Linked DNA regions of Homo sapiens: regions 2, 3, 4 and 5 are each linked to region 1. Evidence: promoter capture Hi-C in human tissues and cell types (Jung and others, 2019). All regions are on one chromosome and are shown on one strand. Each heading gives the region's core, a stretch centred on a gene start or on the middle of the fragment in contact. The rest is flanking DNA. Distances are from core to core; before and after follow the strand shown. Region 1 holds the start of LCNL1 (lipocalin like 1). Region 2 overlaps NSMF (NMDA receptor synaptonuclear signaling and neuronal migration factor). Region 3 holds the start of NOTCH1 (notch receptor 1). Region 4 has its middle 23 kb from the start of NALT1. Region 5 holds the start of TOR4A (torsin family 4 member A).

The links. Contacts are between HindIII fragments. The study calls those that stand out against the background at their distance.
Region 2: a contact is called between a fragment that was not itself captured here and the fragment with the promoter of LCNL1 in region 1, in 1 of the 25 tissues and cell types used here (spleen).
Region 3: the fragment with the promoter of NOTCH1 here is called in contact with the fragment with the promoter of LCNL1 in region 1 in 1 of the 25 tissues and cell types used here (lymphoblastoid cells).
Region 4: a fragment that was not itself captured here is called in contact with the fragment with the promoter of LCNL1 in region 1 in 2 of the 25 tissues and cell types used here (aorta and spleen).
Region 5: a contact is called between the fragment with the promoter of TOR4A here and the fragment with the promoter of LCNL1 in region 1, in 1 of the 25 tissues and cell types used here (hippocampus).

The regions. Positions count from the first base shown.
Region 1 is chr9:136,981,586-136,984,499 of GRCh38, reverse strand. It overlaps LCNL1 (lipocalin like 1), which reads right to left and starts at 1,507. Exons shown (of 3, transcript NM_207510.4): 1 at 792-1,507; 2 at 1-10. The coding sequence starts at 913. PTGDS (prostaglandin D2 synthase) reads right to left here. Exons shown (of 7, transcript NM_000954.6): 7 at 2,758-2,914. RefSeq lists an enhancer at 1-169. The HindIII fragment of the contact is 9,863 bases long and covers 1-2,914 here.
Region 2 is chr9:137,444,995-137,447,908 of GRCh38, reverse strand. NSMF (NMDA receptor synaptonuclear signaling and neuronal migration factor) reads left to right here. Exons shown (of 16, transcript NM_001130969.3): 16 at 1-339. Among named protein-coding and RNA genes, the nearest start is that of MIR7114, 3.6 kb to the left of the region's middle. The HindIII fragment of the contact is 6,315 bases long and covers 1-2,914 here.
Region 3 is chr9:136,544,565-136,547,478 of GRCh38, reverse strand. NOTCH1 (notch receptor 1) reads left to right here and starts at 1,431. Exons shown (of 34, transcript NM_017617.5): 1 at 1,431-1,753. The coding sequence starts at 1,693. It overlaps MIR4674 (microRNA 4674), which reads left to right and starts at 1,220; the gene lies at 1,220-1,306. RefSeq lists enhancers at 1-574, 2,547-2,596 and silencers at 767-866, 1,207-1,766, 1,787-2,046, 2,267-2,316. The HindIII fragment of the contact is 7,823 bases long and covers 1-2,914 here.
Region 4 is chr9:136,569,636-136,572,549 of GRCh38, reverse strand. No RefSeq gene overlaps it. Among named protein-coding and RNA genes, the nearest start is that of NALT1, 23 kb to the right of the region's middle. RefSeq lists enhancers at 1-163, 164-691, 1,218-1,745, 1-2,914. The HindIII fragment of the contact is 8,565 bases long and covers 1-2,914 here.
Region 5 is chr9:137,276,183-137,279,096 of GRCh38, reverse strand. It overlaps TOR4A (torsin family 4 member A), which reads right to left and starts at 1,371. Exons shown (of 2, transcript NM_017723.3): 1 at 1,190-1,371; 2 at 1-444. The coding sequence starts at 407. RefSeq lists silencers at 811-870, 1,151-1,470. The HindIII fragment of the contact is 16,896 bases long and covers 1-2,914 here.

The DNA.
Region 1 (2,914 bases), core at 258-2,757:
GCCATGGGGCCTGGGGAGAAAGAGCCCCAATCCCCTGAGTGGCCACCCCTGCCCAGCGCCCAGGCCTAGAGCCTACCTTGCTGTCTCTGAGCCCAGGGTCCCCTGTTCACCCTCACAATCCTTAGAGGACATGGGACTTTAGGATGACCTTAGAGGTGGGGACACTCCTGCTGGGGGTGGGGTGGGTATTAAGTACCTGTTCACAGGCACACAGCCTAGAATGCAGGGCCTCCAGGTCCCCCTTCCAGACACAGACACACAGAAGACACACACATACACACATGCACACACACGGAGATAGACACAGACACAGACACACTGACAGACACACACATAGACACGCACACAAGACACACACAGAGATAGACACACACAGCCAGACACAGATACACAGACACACAGACACACAGACGCATACAGTGATACACACATACACACTCAGAGGTACACATCTACAAAGACACACATGCATACACACGCACACACAGACACACACACATGCAGAAATAGACACACATACACAGAGACACAGCCACATACAGTGATACACACACAGACACAGACATGCAGACACTTTTCTCAACACCAGGCCTCAGGCAGTGCTTCCTCCAGGGCCTGGGTCCCTCTGGACTCCGTGTGGCTGCCATCTGGGGCTCTGCCGCACAGAGCCGTCGAGGACCCGTGGTCTGACCTCAATGTGCTGGGGACACCATGGTCCCTCTGGACCTTCATGTGGCCTCATGCTGGCCATCCTCTGAGGCTGAGTCTGATGGGCTCGTGTGGTCACTTACGTGGGGTATCCAAACTTGAGGGCCAGGTCACCATTCCCCAAGGGGGTCACTAAGACCACAGCCATCTTCATGGTGTCCTTGGAGTCCAGGAAGTCCTGGTCATCTGACACCACCCCGACCATGTACCAGGTGCCCTGGAACTGCAGGGCAAGTGCAGGGAAGGCTGGGAGGCCGCCCCTGTGCCCTGGGCCTGAGCCCACCACATTCTGCCCCGACACAGCTGCTTCCTGGCCACGGCAGGGGCTGCTGTACACATCTCGACCCCGATGCAGAACTGAGGGAGGGGGGCCTCAGTACATGAGCAACTGGCCCCCACCAGCCCAGCACCGGCCTGTCTGCAGCTGGCACCCAGGGGGTACGGCTGGATGGGTGGGGCTGTGGCAAGGTCACAGGTCTTTGTGGGGTGGGTGGGGGACAGTGAGGCACAGGCAACCAACTTGTCCCTATTTTGGGCCCTGGGGATTGTTGGGGGATGCAACTGAAAAGGTAGGATGGAGGCTGCAGTCTTCCCCAGCCAACCCCTACTCCAGTCAGACGGAGCGGGTGAGGTGGGGGTTTCCCCTGCCCCTAGCCCTGCTGAGCCTGGATCAAAGAGGGTGTGGACAGGGACCCGGGGTGCAGCACCAAAGCCGGGAGGACTCATTGGAGATGAGGAGGAAACAGGGCTGGGCACACCTGGCTGGCATCAAAGTTGGCCTGGATGGGGACCTGGGCCTGGCCTGGGGATGCCCAGAGCAGGGCAAGGAGGGAACTGATCAGCAGAGCCCGAAGCATCATGCAGCAAGATGGCATCTCCTCCGGACACGGGAGCAGGGCAGAGCTGAGGTGGCTCCTCTGTAGGCTTTACGCCCCTGAGGTGCCCTGGGGCGGCTGGCCTGGGACTGCACCCACTGTGACAGGCTTCTGATCAAGTTGCACCCTGCAGCGCTCTGGCCTGGCTCCCTCCACCCAACCCCAGCCATCCGTTGCCTTTCCTCCGGGGTGGGGCCGGATGCCTGGCAGCTGAGGGTAGTTCTGACGGGCCTCTGGGCTAGGGGGCCTGCAGCTCACCCATCCTGCCTCTTCGGCCTTCTGCAGCCCCTCTGGGATGTTGGAATCCCCCCTACCTTGAGCTCAGGCACAGCCCTAAGCCCCCTTCTCCGGGAAGGCCACCCAGAAGCTCACCCTCACCTCCGAGCCTCAAAATGCTTGGTGCCTCTGCAGGGTCTGCCTCGGGGGGGCCTGGTGGGCAGGTCACAGTGAGTCCTGCACATTGTGTACCTGAGAATGGCTGCCTGGGTGGGAATCTGGAAGGGAGCAGGGTTGGGCAGGGCACTGGCCGGGCATGGTGTGGCCGTGGTGCCAGGGCTCTGGTGAGTGGACAAGGCTGTGATCTGGAGGCCCAGGTCAGAGGGCAGGGGGCGCACAGGGAGCCAGAAGGGATATGGGGTAGCCTGTCCCCAGCCCACTCTGTCAGTCTGTCCTGATGCGGGGTGGAGACACTCTGGCATGTTTCAAACAAATGTTTCTTTTTGTCCCCTGAAACCCTTATCTCTGCCCAATCTCAGTGCGTTAATCCCACACCTCAAGATACCCAACAGGTCCAAAGCTCCTCTGGGGCCTCGAGCCTCAGGCCTTTACTGCTGAGGGGGTGACAGGGTGGCGTTGGGGGTGCAGGGCACCTGCCTAAGGGATTAGCTGAGTCACTGACCCCCAGCTCAGCACCGGCCTGGTGGCAGTGGCAGCTGAGGGGGTATGGCTCGACGTGTGGGGCTGTGGGGCAGGGGCACACGACTGTGTGGGGTGGGTGGGAGACAGTGAGGGACACCCCCTCCTAGCTGTCCTGACTCAAGACCCCACTGGGAGCAAACACTAGAGGGCCTGTTCCTTTGTTGACGTCAGGCTGAGATTTTAGAGGGGGAGGTCCGGGTGGCCAGGGCCAGGCCCAGGACGGGTGATGACAGCGCAGACAGCCAGGAGCCAGCTCTACTGACTTGCTTCCGGAGTTTATTGTGCAGGATGAAGCCTGAGTGGGCAGGGTTGCTTTGGCGGGGAGCCGGGGCAGGGGCTCGGGGAAGGAACAGAGCAGAGACATCCAGAGCGTGGGGGTCACCTGGCTGGCCGGGATCCCAGCTTCAGCCCTG
Region 2 (2,914 bases), core at 175-2,674, 460 kb before region 1:
TGTGTGTGCAGTCAGCAGTGTGGCCACAGATGGGGGCCACTCTCTCAACCTCAGGTGTCCTCAGGGCCCAGACCGCTGCTGGGCACAGCCAGGCTGGCTGCCAGCTGGTTCCCTGCCCCGTGGCTGGGGGACAGAGCAGCACGTATCAGCTGGGCTAGGGTCAGGGGGCCACTGGTGCGCAGCCTGGCACAGCCTGGCAGGCTTGAGGCCCAGTGTGCTGGGGGTGGTCACACAGCCGTCAGCCACCTCCAGCTCTTCCAGGGCATTCTAGATGGGGTCCCGGGAGGGGGCAGGTTTTGGTGCCAATTTGAGTGTATAAAGTTTTAGGTAAATACCAAATGCCTGTAGACTCTGTGTTATTCAGTTACTATTTGAAAGTGACATATCGTGAAATCATGGGGGATCCGAGTCTCCTTTCTGCAAAGTTGATGAGACAAGTCGCCACCGCCTGGAATCTGCTGACGCTGCCGTGCAGGCCTCAAGGGTGGCACTCTTCAAAGTAGGACAGCATGCGAGGTCGCCACGTGCCCACACACTGCACTGCTCCAAAGGCACATCTGTCCGTCACCTGAGCTCTGAGACCCAGAACAGCCACAGGGACCCTGCAGTCCTAACCCGTCAGGTGGCTCCTGGGGCTGCTGCCAGCCGCATGCCTGTCCCACACAGTCCGGTCCGTAGGGTCTGCTGGAGTGAGTAAGGCCTGGGGGGCCTTATGTATGGTCCATGAGGTTCCATTCCTCATGCCATGACCACCGGGGGAAGTGAAAGGAGGAAGACACGTCAAAGCCAGCAGGCCCAGGAGCAGACATAGAAGGAGGTGGCCCCACAGGAGCAGACGCAGAAGTGCCAACGGGGAAGGAGGTGGCCCCAAGTGGAGGCAGGCTGGGCCAGGGCGGGGGGCCGGTGACCAGGGCAACCTCGGCTACTTTGCTGCACCCGCCCTCGCCTCCCTTGAAATACAAAAACAGCAGCAGCCAGAAATAGTTGGGGAAGAAATAAGAAATATTTGCCACACATGGGAGTGATTAAGGTCCTTAATATTTAAAGAGTTTTTATATGTTGCTAAAGAAAATGACAAAAACCGATATGGAAAAGTGAGCAGAGATGTGGAGAAATCATTCGCAGAGCAGGAAACTGGCTGGTAATTCCATGAAGAAAGTCCTCATCCCATCAGGAATCATGGAAAGGCCAATGAAAGCGACGAGGTAACCCCCTTTTCAATTTGAGAGGGTTTTGATCTGTCGCGCAGGCTGGGGCTCACCGCTGTCTTGACCTCCTGGGCTCAAGCGATTCTCCCACCCGCTCAGCCTCCGGAGTAGCTGGGACTACAGGCATCACCACGCCTGGCTAATTCTTTTATGTTTTGTAGAGACAGGGTCTCACTCTGTTGCCCAGGCTAGTCTCAAACTCCTGGCCTCGAGCAATCCTCCTGCCTCCTCAGCCTGTTACAGCTTTTTTTTTTAAGGTAATCTGGTAACAGCTCTTAAAAGTAGTGTGACTGATGAGTGCACAAGCCCGTCCAGCCCCAGCCGCCCCCTGGCACCTTTTCTGAGGGTGTCTACTGCCCCGCTGTGCTGTGCCCGCTAATCTGGGTGTGGCCCGATCGCACAATGGCTTTTCTGGAAGGATCCGATGCTCACGAGGCTTATTGCTAAGGAGGAAGATGCAACAGGTCCAGCTGTTCCAAGTGACTGGGTCACGCTTCACATCGATGTGCAATGTCTCCTGCCACCTGCCTGGATGCACTCTCGTGACTACCTGGCAGGCTGGGAACAGCACGGGGGAGGCCCCCGCCTGCCCCAGCGACCTGCCTGCCCTGCTCTCAAGTGCAGACCCCCAGGTCTGCACTTCCACGCTCACTACACAACCCCAAGTGGCCCCCCGGGTGGCCCCGTGGCCGGATGTGCACCCAGCAGAGCAGCCACCCTTGAGACCTGGGGTGTGGTCTGGGGGCTGTGTGGAGACCTCCCGCCAGGGTGCAGGAGTGTCTAAGGGCAAGCAGAGGTGTGATTCCTGTCTGTAAGGTAAAACCCCCGTGAGCAGGAATCAATAATGTAGACATGATCGGAATGGTGGAGGGAGCTGTGGCGGTCACACCCTTGCTGTTAGCATTGCCTCTGTGGGGGCAGGAGACAGCAAACATAAAACCTGTCCCTGAAAGGGGCAAGATGGCCCCGATGGCTCCCTGCACCTGTCCTGGTGCCTGCAGGCAGGCGGGTCAGCTCCCCTCCCGCTGCCAAATCTCCCACGTCTCTGTGCGCTCTGTCACCCCTGCTTTCTGGCCTGAGGGCTGGGAAGGGAGGTCTGGGGAGCCCAGGAGCTGAGAAGTACCCAAAAACCACCCCCAACGCCCCCCAACCCTCAGGCGTGCCTGTGAGTGTGTCTGTGTGTCTCACTCTGACTCACCCAGACAACTGACTTCAGCAGCCAACCTTGGTCATTCCCAGAACCACCACTGGGGGGCATACGTGTGGCTAGACTGGGGGCGCCCGAATATCTGTCTCTACAAAAAGTAAAAAAAAAATTAATGGGGTGTGGTGGTGGTGCGTGCCTGTGGTGTCAGCTGCTTGGGACGCTGGGGCAGGAGGATCACTTGAGCCCGAGAATTCAAGGCTACAGTGAGTTAAGATTACGCCACTGCACTCCATCCTGGGTGACAGAGCAAGACCTTGTCTCAAGAAAAAATTTTTAAATGAGTAAAATTTTAAAAAACAGATTTTGTCAGTCTTTCTGTCATTTCAACGCCTTCTCAACCTTGGTGTCTGCTGATGGCCTCTTCCCTGCTGGTCAGGATTCTCACAGTTCTTTGGGTGTGGAGGAATTCTGGTTTGTAATTTTTTTTTTTTTCTTAGAGTCTCTTTCTGTTGCCCAGGCTGGAGTGCAGTGGCACAATCTCGTCTGACTGCAACCTCCA
Region 3 (2,914 bases), core at 182-2,681, 440 kb after region 1:
TGCTCCTCCAGGCTGCCTGGCTGCTGTTACATAAACATCTCTGCTGCCTCCAGGCGCCTCCTCTCCTGGGGCGCTGACCCCAAGATGTTACCCCAGGCCTGCAGAAGTGAGGCCAGATTCTGGGAGGACGCAGGCGAGGGAGGCTCCCAGCAGCAGCTACAGGGGCGGGACAGGCCGCCTGCACTGGCTGTTTCCAGAGTGCTCAGCATTTGGCAAGAGGTGTGCCAGGAAAGGCTTGCTGGGGTCAGGTGTGAGATTTGTCCTGCTTTCTGTGCCTGCCTCTGCCACCATGCTCTGGGGTTTCTGCAGCCCTCCCCCCAGGCCCCCACAGTCCTAGGTCCCTCCCAGCCTTTCGGTCTCCCCGCAGGGCAGGCTTAGCCCTCCTACTCCAGGAGGGGCGCCGGGACACGCGCCTTCTGCCATCGCACTCACCACCCTGTGTTGGGGTGGGGAGGGGGCGCTGTCTGTCCCTGGCACGAGGCCGTGAACTTTGCGCAGGGACTATGGCAGGCATTTTGGACTCCTGGCGCTTAACCAGGCTTGGCACAGGGTGCCCGTGCCTGGCATCGTGGTGGAGAAATAAATCAGCCGGAAGGAGCACGTGGGAAGGGCTGCGCCGGCGCCAGCGGCAGATCCGCCCGACCCGTTTGTGCTTTCTGGGGCCACCTTAGGCAGGCGGCGCCCGGGCAGGAGGAGGACGGTGACCGAGGAGCGTGTCGACGCGGGTCCCCCTTGGGGGAGCGGGGCACAATCCGTCCGCGAGGCACTGGTCCCGGCTGCTCCCTCGGGGCGCCCGGAGTCCCCTGCCCAGAGGCCGCGGCGCCCCCATCCCTCGCGGTCAAGTGCTCGGGCAATCACGGCCAGGGATGTCTGGCGGCGATCGATCCTCTGGACGCCTAAAGCCGCGGCCACGGGGCCCTCGGGAGGGAGTGAAGCCGCTGGGCTAGGGGCGCACACACGGCTAGGCCACTCTCCCAGAGCCCTGCCCCGGGCCCGGGGTCCCCCAACGTGGCCTCAGCTGCTCCCCGCCCGGCCCAGCGCACGGTGCACACGGCTGTCCGCGGCCTCGCCCTCCCCATTCCGCCCCGGGCTCCTCCGCTTATTCACATGCAAATTTCAGTCGCCAGTTGTCGCCGAGCGCGGCAACCGCCAGAGCCGGATCCTTCCGCAGCCCCGGCTCAAACTTTTGGCCTCTGAAAACTTTCAAACGAGAAGTAGTCCCAGGCGCCCGCTCCCGACCCACGCCGCGCCGCCGGGTCCCTCCTCCCCGGAGAGGCTGGGCTCGGGACGCGCGGCTCAGCTCGGGGAGGCGCAAAGGCGGACGGGGCGTGCGGGAGGAGGTGGCCGCGGAGGGGGCGGGGGGACCGGCGGGGGTGGGGCCGGGCGGGGCGGGGCCGGCGGGGGCGGAGCGCACCTCGACTCTGAGCCTCACTAGTGCCTCGGCCGCGGGAGGGAGCGCAAGGGCGCGGGGCGCGGGGCGCGGGCGCGGGCGCGAGCGCAGCGAAGGAACGAGCCGGGCGCGGAGCCGGGCCCGGGGGCCTGCGAGAGCACAGCGCCGCCAGCCAGCCGGGGAAGAGAGGGCGGGACCGTCCGCCGCCGCCCCGGGACCGTACGCCGCGCGTGTGCGTCCCAGCCCCGCCGGCCAGCGCAGGAGGCCGCCGCCCGGGCGCAGAGGGCAGCCGGTGGGGAGGCATGCCGCCGCTCCTGGCGCCCCTGCTCTGCCTGGCGCTGCTGCCCGCGCTCGCCGCACGAGGTAGGCGCCCACCCACCCGCGAGCCCCCACTTTCCGCGCCCTTTGGAAACTTTGGCGGCGCCCGGCGCGCGCGCCCCACGGCTGGGAGCGGGCGGCGGGGAGGCCAGCATGGAGAGGGAAAAGCGGGCGGCCCGGGGCGTGGGGTTCTGGAGTCCCGGGATCAGGGAGGACCGACCTTCCCCCTCGATCCCCCCGTGGAGGCGGACTCGCGCCGCCCGTGCCTGGAGCCGAGTTAGGAGGCCGGTGTGGGGTGCTGGGGCCCCGGAGGCCCTACTCCGGGCCCGCCCTTCACCCGCCGCGCGTGGGGCTTGCCGCCGGTCGGCCGGGCGGGCGGGCTGCCTACTATTTTTCGATTTGAATAGAGTCGGTTTTGGTTTCCTGTTGCTTCTCCGGGCCATTTATCTTCTTTCTTCTTCGCCTCTGGCCCACGCCGGGGCGGATGTTGGGGCGCGGAGTGTGGGCTCTGCGGCGCCGCGTTCGCCTTCACTGACCCGCGCGGCCGGGCTGGGTCCCCGGGCTCCCGGTCGCCCCGCCCGCCGGTGCCCCCCAGCCCGGCTCTCAGTTTGGGGGAGGGGTTGCGTAAGAAGCCGCCGCGCCCGGGGGGACTGAACTTTCCTTTTGCTTTGCGGAGTTGAAGTTTGGAAAGCTTGGGGGCGGAGAGCGGGACGCGGGTGGGGGGCTCTTACATTTCTCCCCGCCGCACAGCGAGCGGGGTCTCTGGGGAATCGAGTGATTAATCCACTCTTTCTCCGAGAGTTGGAGGCGAGAATTATCTGTCCTCTTCCAGAAAGTGCGGCTCTGTGTCACACCCCCCTCCCCCGTTTCTCAGCCCCGGTAAGATGGGGAGGGAGGGGCTTGAGTAATTGATCCCTTCTCGAGATGGGGTCGAATTCCTTCCGAATGGGGGACCTTCATCCCCCTCCTGTGGGTGTATGGGGGCTGCCCTGGAGATGCGCGCCCGCGGAGGCAGGTATTGGGTGTCGGCGGAGGCGGGGCCGCGTCCCCAGGGTGCTGTCCCGGTGCCCCTGGAGGCGGCCCCGACTCCACAATGGGCCGCTCTGATTCTGAGGCGGAGGCCGGCGCTTTGTTGGCGGGCGGGGTAGCGGGCGAGCAGCTGTCGCATTTTCCCACGGGCGGGAGCTGAGTGTGGCCACCCCCCCT
Region 4 (2,914 bases), core at 239-2,738, 410 kb after region 1:
GACAGGGAGGTGGGACAGCCCCTCCCTCCGGCCTGGGCTGGGGCAGCTTCCAGGGCCGCGTTTCTGGGGACGCTGGCCTCATTCATCAGTGTCTTATGTGCATGGCCCTTCATCTCTGGGTACACCCGCCCTGCAGAAAGGCACTGGCTCTGTCTCTGCCTCCTGGCTATGCTGCCCTTCCCCAGAGGGAAGGACAATGGGGGTAGAGAGGAGGTGGGAAAGTCTGGCGGGGACCATTGTGTGAGGCCCTGCATGTTTGCATAGTGAGTGCCTTGACTGCTGAATGGACACAGGCATCCCAAGAATGCTGGCAGAGCCCACCAAGGGGCCGGCCCCGCACCCCCAAGCCTCTGACGCTTGCTGTCACTCGAGCCTGTCAGCACAGAGGGTAGGGAGAGATGAGACTGGCCAGGTTTAAGCACCAAGTAGGAGTCATCAAGAGCTGCCAAGCACAGTGGTGCCGGTTGTAAACTGCACAATTCCCGGGAGTGCCATTGACCTGGGTGGCTACAACTGCCAGCAACCCTGTAGCCACTCTGTTGGCCTCAGTGGTCTCAGCAGTAAAATGGCACAGGAGACCCCGTCCTGAGAAGGTATCTGCTTTCAGCCCAAGGTGGGGAGGGCGTGGGGGAGATGGGAAGCTGAGATGGGGCAGAAGGGGACAGAGGAAGGGAGGAAATCCACTAAGGACGTGAGAAGGGCGAGGCCTCCTGACCGACAGGCCGAAGGCCATGTGGGCGGCTGCATGGGGTCCATCGTGCAGACCTTCACTCTGGGCCAGCGCTGGGGCTGTGAGCTCGGCCAGCGTGGGGAGACTGCCAGCAGCTCAGAAGTCCCTGCGGGCTCCTAGGACCTGGTTCCTGTTCCCTCCAAGGCCTTTCAGATTCCCCAGCAAACCCCACAGGACAGCAGGGAAGGGCCAGGGTGGAGGGGACTGCAGGGACTTGAGCTGTCCACACGGGGAGGAGGAACCCGGGGGAGGCTGCCCCGGCCTACATTTGAAGCCATGGCCTTCACTCCAGGAACCCCAGCTCACTCAGAAATGGGACTAGGAAGGGCTGTTCTCAGTGGGGACAGCCAGGAAGGACCAAGTGGGGAATATCCCTGAAGCCCCCACACTGCCCTTCAGCCCCCTAGAATGTTGGCTCTTTGGATCCTCACCGAGGGCGTGGCGCGGTGTGGTGGCTGAGGCCGCCTGGGACTGACCCCAGCTCTGAGTGTCGGGGCTCTGTGTCTCTGTCTCTGTGTCTGTCTCTCTGTCTGTGAAACTGGGGAGGTGGTAACGACTCCCTGTGTCTCCGTCTGTGAAACTGGGGAGGTGGTAACGACTCCCAGGGCGTGGGAGGTGAGCGGCCGATAAACGTCAGAAGGAGAGGCCGGCCCAGAGTCAGCACCACGGCTCCCGGGCTCCCAGGAGACGCACACCAGGCAGAAGGAACTGTGTGCGAAGGCCGGGAGGTGGGACCTGTCCGGGGGTGACGGCAGGCGAGGGAGGGGAGGGTTGTGGGGGCCTCAGGAGGACAAAGGAGGGAAGAGGCCAGGACCTAGGGGAAAGGAGGCCAGGGCAGCCAGGAGGCCCTGGGCACAGGGGTCTGTCCCCTGTCTGTCCCAGCCGTGGGGCGTCGTGCTGTCCTGGAAGCAGGTTTTCTGTGGAGGCTGTGGAGAGGCTGGGGAGTGGGTGAGGGCCCTACCCTTCCCTTTGTCCCTGGCCCCGGCAGCCAGGCACTGAGAACCAGCATACCGGCCGGGGCCAGGGGATTGGCCAGGGCCCCCAGAGGCCCGGGAGCTGCTCATTCCCCAGCTCGGGGTGGGCAGCTCTTCCCTTCCATCTCGGGGTGGGGCAGTGCCAGCCCACTGGCCCCCTGGGGGACAGGGCGAAGGGCTCCAGCAGGGCCACCCAGCAAGGGAAGGAGAGATGTGCAGGGGGCACCAAAAAGTCTGGGGAAAATGGGGGTCAGTCCTGGTGAGGGAGGCCAGAGGACAAAAGGGCGGGGCAGACAATGATCCCGGGCTGGGGACCGGGGCCTGACTGCCCAGCCTGGTTGATAGTTCAGGAGGTCTGCACATCTCGGGCACAGCCTAGCAAAACCTGGGGGTAGCAGCAGGGCTAGGGACTGGGGACCCGAGTCAGAGGTCCAGAGACGCTGTGTCTGTGGCAAGAACCTCTCGCTGACCTGGTGTGACCCTGGCGTGACTGTGTCAGGTGCCATGGTGACTGCACGCCCAGCCAGGGCCAAGGGTCTGCTCTAAGCTCGCTGCCTATGCCCTGTGTGGGGTGCCCTCCCCTCCTCTCTGTTCTGGGCTGCTCTGAGCCTCCCATCCCACAGGCCTGGGAAGGCAGGAGGGCGCCAGCAGCACCTGGGCAGAAGTCACCTCTCCCCTCCGCTTGCCCAAGCCAATGCCACCTGCTGTCAGGCCCAGGGATGCAGGGTCGGGCCAAGAGAGGGCTGAGAGCAAGCAGGGGACCCCCACCCAAACAATACACACACACATAGAGACACATGTACACACAAACACAGTGCACACAGACACACTTGCACACACAATGCACACATGTACACACAGACACACACACGTGCACGCATGCTCCAACAGATGCACACACCAGTACACACACAGAGACACACACATGCACACACCAGTACAGAGACACACATGCACACACCAGTACACACACAGAGACACAGACATGCACACATGCACACAGACACACGTGCACACACGTGCACACAGACACACACACATGCACACATGCTCCAACGGATGCACACACCAGTACACACAGAGACACACACATACACACACCACTACACACACAGAGACACATGCACACAGACACATGCACGCACAGATACATGCACACACCAGTACACACACAGAGACACACACATGCACACACAGATACACACAGGCA
Region 5 (2,914 bases), core at 122-2,621, 290 kb before region 1:
TTGAGAACTTGGAAGCCCACGATGGCGACTAGCAGCAGAAGGCAGCGCTGCGCGCGGCTCCTGTGCTCCACGCGCGGCCGATACTTGCGCGAGGTCTCCGGGTAAAGCACCAGGCGGCTGCGCCGGCGCTTCTTGCGTGGCGTCCTGGAGGGTAGCTCCGCGGGGCTGTCGAAGGTGAAGAACTTTGGCTGGTCCAGGTCCGCGCGCGGTGCCCGGGGGCTGCAGCCCGGCCTGGGCGCCCCGGTCCCGACGTCGGGCCCCCCACCCGGCTGCAGGAGGCGCCGTTTGCGTAGGACACACACCCGGCGGCGCAGGCGGAGCACAGCGCGCACGGGCGCGATCACGCACCGGCCCGAGGCTCGGGGGGCCGCGGCAGCAGGCTCCAGGCTGGGCTGGCCGCGGTCCATGTCGCAGGAACGGCGCTCCGCATACAGGTCGCCCTCCCTGCAACGGGAAGACGGGGAGGGTCTCTGGACTCCCGCCACTGCCCTTTCCCGCGGGCCGCCGGAACCGGTCCCCGGAGTGATCTTACCCCCTGGGAGTCCCGTGGGGTGCGGCCCGGGCTGCCCCAGGGCCAGGGGCCTGGTCGCGGCCTCGCCCCTCAGACCGGCAAGCGACCCCTCCGCCCCTCCGCCCCTCCGCCCCTCCGCAGGGCCCCGATGCAAATCTCTCGGGTCTTCCCATAAACGGCCGCGGGCCTTGAGGAAGTGGCGGGGTAGAGGCTTATCTGGTGGCCGCCCCGGCTTCCTGGAGGAGTCGTCGAAGGAGTCAGTGGCCGCCCAGGCGCCCACTGGGGTGAACAGTCACCCCCGGACCCTGCCCCCGCCCGCGGCTCCCACTGGACTGGGCCGTCTCCCAAGGAGGGGCCGCGGGAAGCAGAGGCCTGAGCGCCCAGGAGTTCAGAGACGCCCCCACACGCTCCAGAACACTTGGCGGGGGTCTGGCTGGAACTTATGATTTTGAGAATAGGCCCGGGCCCCGTCCCCAGGCTCAACCCAGGCCTCCCAGCCCCGACTCCAAAACTGGGGTCCTCCCAACACCCCTCCAGTGAACGAGCTGAGCAGTGCAGGGAGCCCCCCGGAGACTAGTGGAGGTGAAACGAAAAGATGGACAGAAAGAAGAGGCCGGTCGGAGCAAGAGAGCCACTGACTGGCAGGAACTGGGCCCTGGGCCCCAACCCACCCCCTACCTGCAGCTGGTCCACTGCCCTCAGCTCCGCAGGCCCCTGCCTGTGCCAGACGCTGGGGCCTGAGACTCCAAGCAGGAAATGCGCCTCCCAGGGCGAGGGGGTGGGCCAGGGGCCTCCTGGGCCAGCTTCGGCCTGGAGGGGCAGCGACACCTGTGGGTCCCCAGGGAGCGGCCGGCCGGAGTAGAGGAAGCTCTGGGGAGGTTTCCGCTTCTATGCAAAGGAAGTGAGTCAGGGGGTGCGGCCCAGGCGGGACTTGGGCTGGACGGAGGCGCCAAAGGGGGGAGGCCTGGCCGGCTTGCCCAGATCCCCTGGCCGGAGGTCACATTCCCGCTTCAGTTCTCTAGCGCTCAGAGCCCTCCTGGCTTGGTCAGGCTCAGGACACCTGGTGAGGCCGAGGGCCCCTGCTGCATGCTGTGCCCCCACCCTGGGCTCCTGCACCTCAGCCTGTCCTCCAGGGCCCCCACCTCCCCCAGGTTATCCCTTCCACCTGTCACCCCACACACAGGGCTTACAGCTGGGGGGAGGGGCTCCAGGCCCTGTGTAAGCAAGGCGGGAGCAAGGCAGCAGCACAGGGGGCGGGCAGGGTCCTCTGCCGAGCTGCATACCCCCAATCCCTCTCTTATTACTCCTCTCCCCGCTTTTTCATTCCCCTCCTGACCCCAATCGGGGGCCCCCCAAAGTGGGCTCATTGTCTTTCCTTTCCCCCTTCCTCCGTCCCCAGCCTGGAGCCCCCTGCCCAGGACAGGCCAGCACACACAGACGGAAGTTCTATCACGGAAAAAACCACGTGCGGCTCAGGGTCCCTGTGGGGGTTGGGGAACAAATTTAGAAACAACTTGGGCCGGGAGCCAGGAGCTGGAGCTCTGGGCCCTTCCCCCTGCCGGCCTGCCTAAAGGACCCTGGACTCCTCCTACCCTGGCCCAGCCTGGAAGCCGCCTTCCAAGGAGGGGCAAGGTGGCCGCTCCAGCCACACCAGTGCTGCTGGCATTCAGCTCAGGACCCCGCAGTCCCAGGGACGCCCCACTCCTCCCAACAGCCAGCCCGGGCCTGATGGTTCCAGCTGTATATTCCTCACACACTGCACCCAACCAGACAGGCTCCATCAGGGAAACCGGTCGTGGGTTGGGGGTTTCCATTCTCTCCAGGGTATGGGGTCCACCGGACTATCACGCTCCCCTCCAGGAGCCAGGCCTAGGGCTCCCCTCCCCTGTGCAAGGGGTGCTCGGGGGCCCGGATCCCCAATTGTCGAGGCCGCGGGGGCCGCACACACCAGGTGGAATGCTGGTGCTCTTTGGGCCCACTCCCCGGCCTCTGTGGGACCAGAGCGGAAGGAGGTTGGCTGTCCAGGCCCCGTGGCCCCAGCACGGAGGTTGGGGTCCTTTGGGGGCCTCAGGCTTTGAGTCTCGGTGCTTCTTCTGACACAGAGAGGACCCTGGAGGGGAGGCCCTCGGGCAGATGCAGGCTGACCGAGCCCTGGAAAACCTGCAGCAAAGCCTCTGCCCTGCCTCCAAGTGCACCCAGGGCTGGAGCTGCTTCTGCCAGAGGCTGGCCCAGCAAATCCTCAGGCCAGAGCCCTCTGCAGGAAAGGGACTCGCTCAAGGGGTGCCCCAAGACCTGGCCCTATGGGTCAAAGGTGAATCTGAGGCCTGGGCCAAGGCCTCACCCCCTGCACTTTCTCCCATCTACAGGGGTGAAGGGAGCCCCAGAACCCCAGCTCCCAGGGCC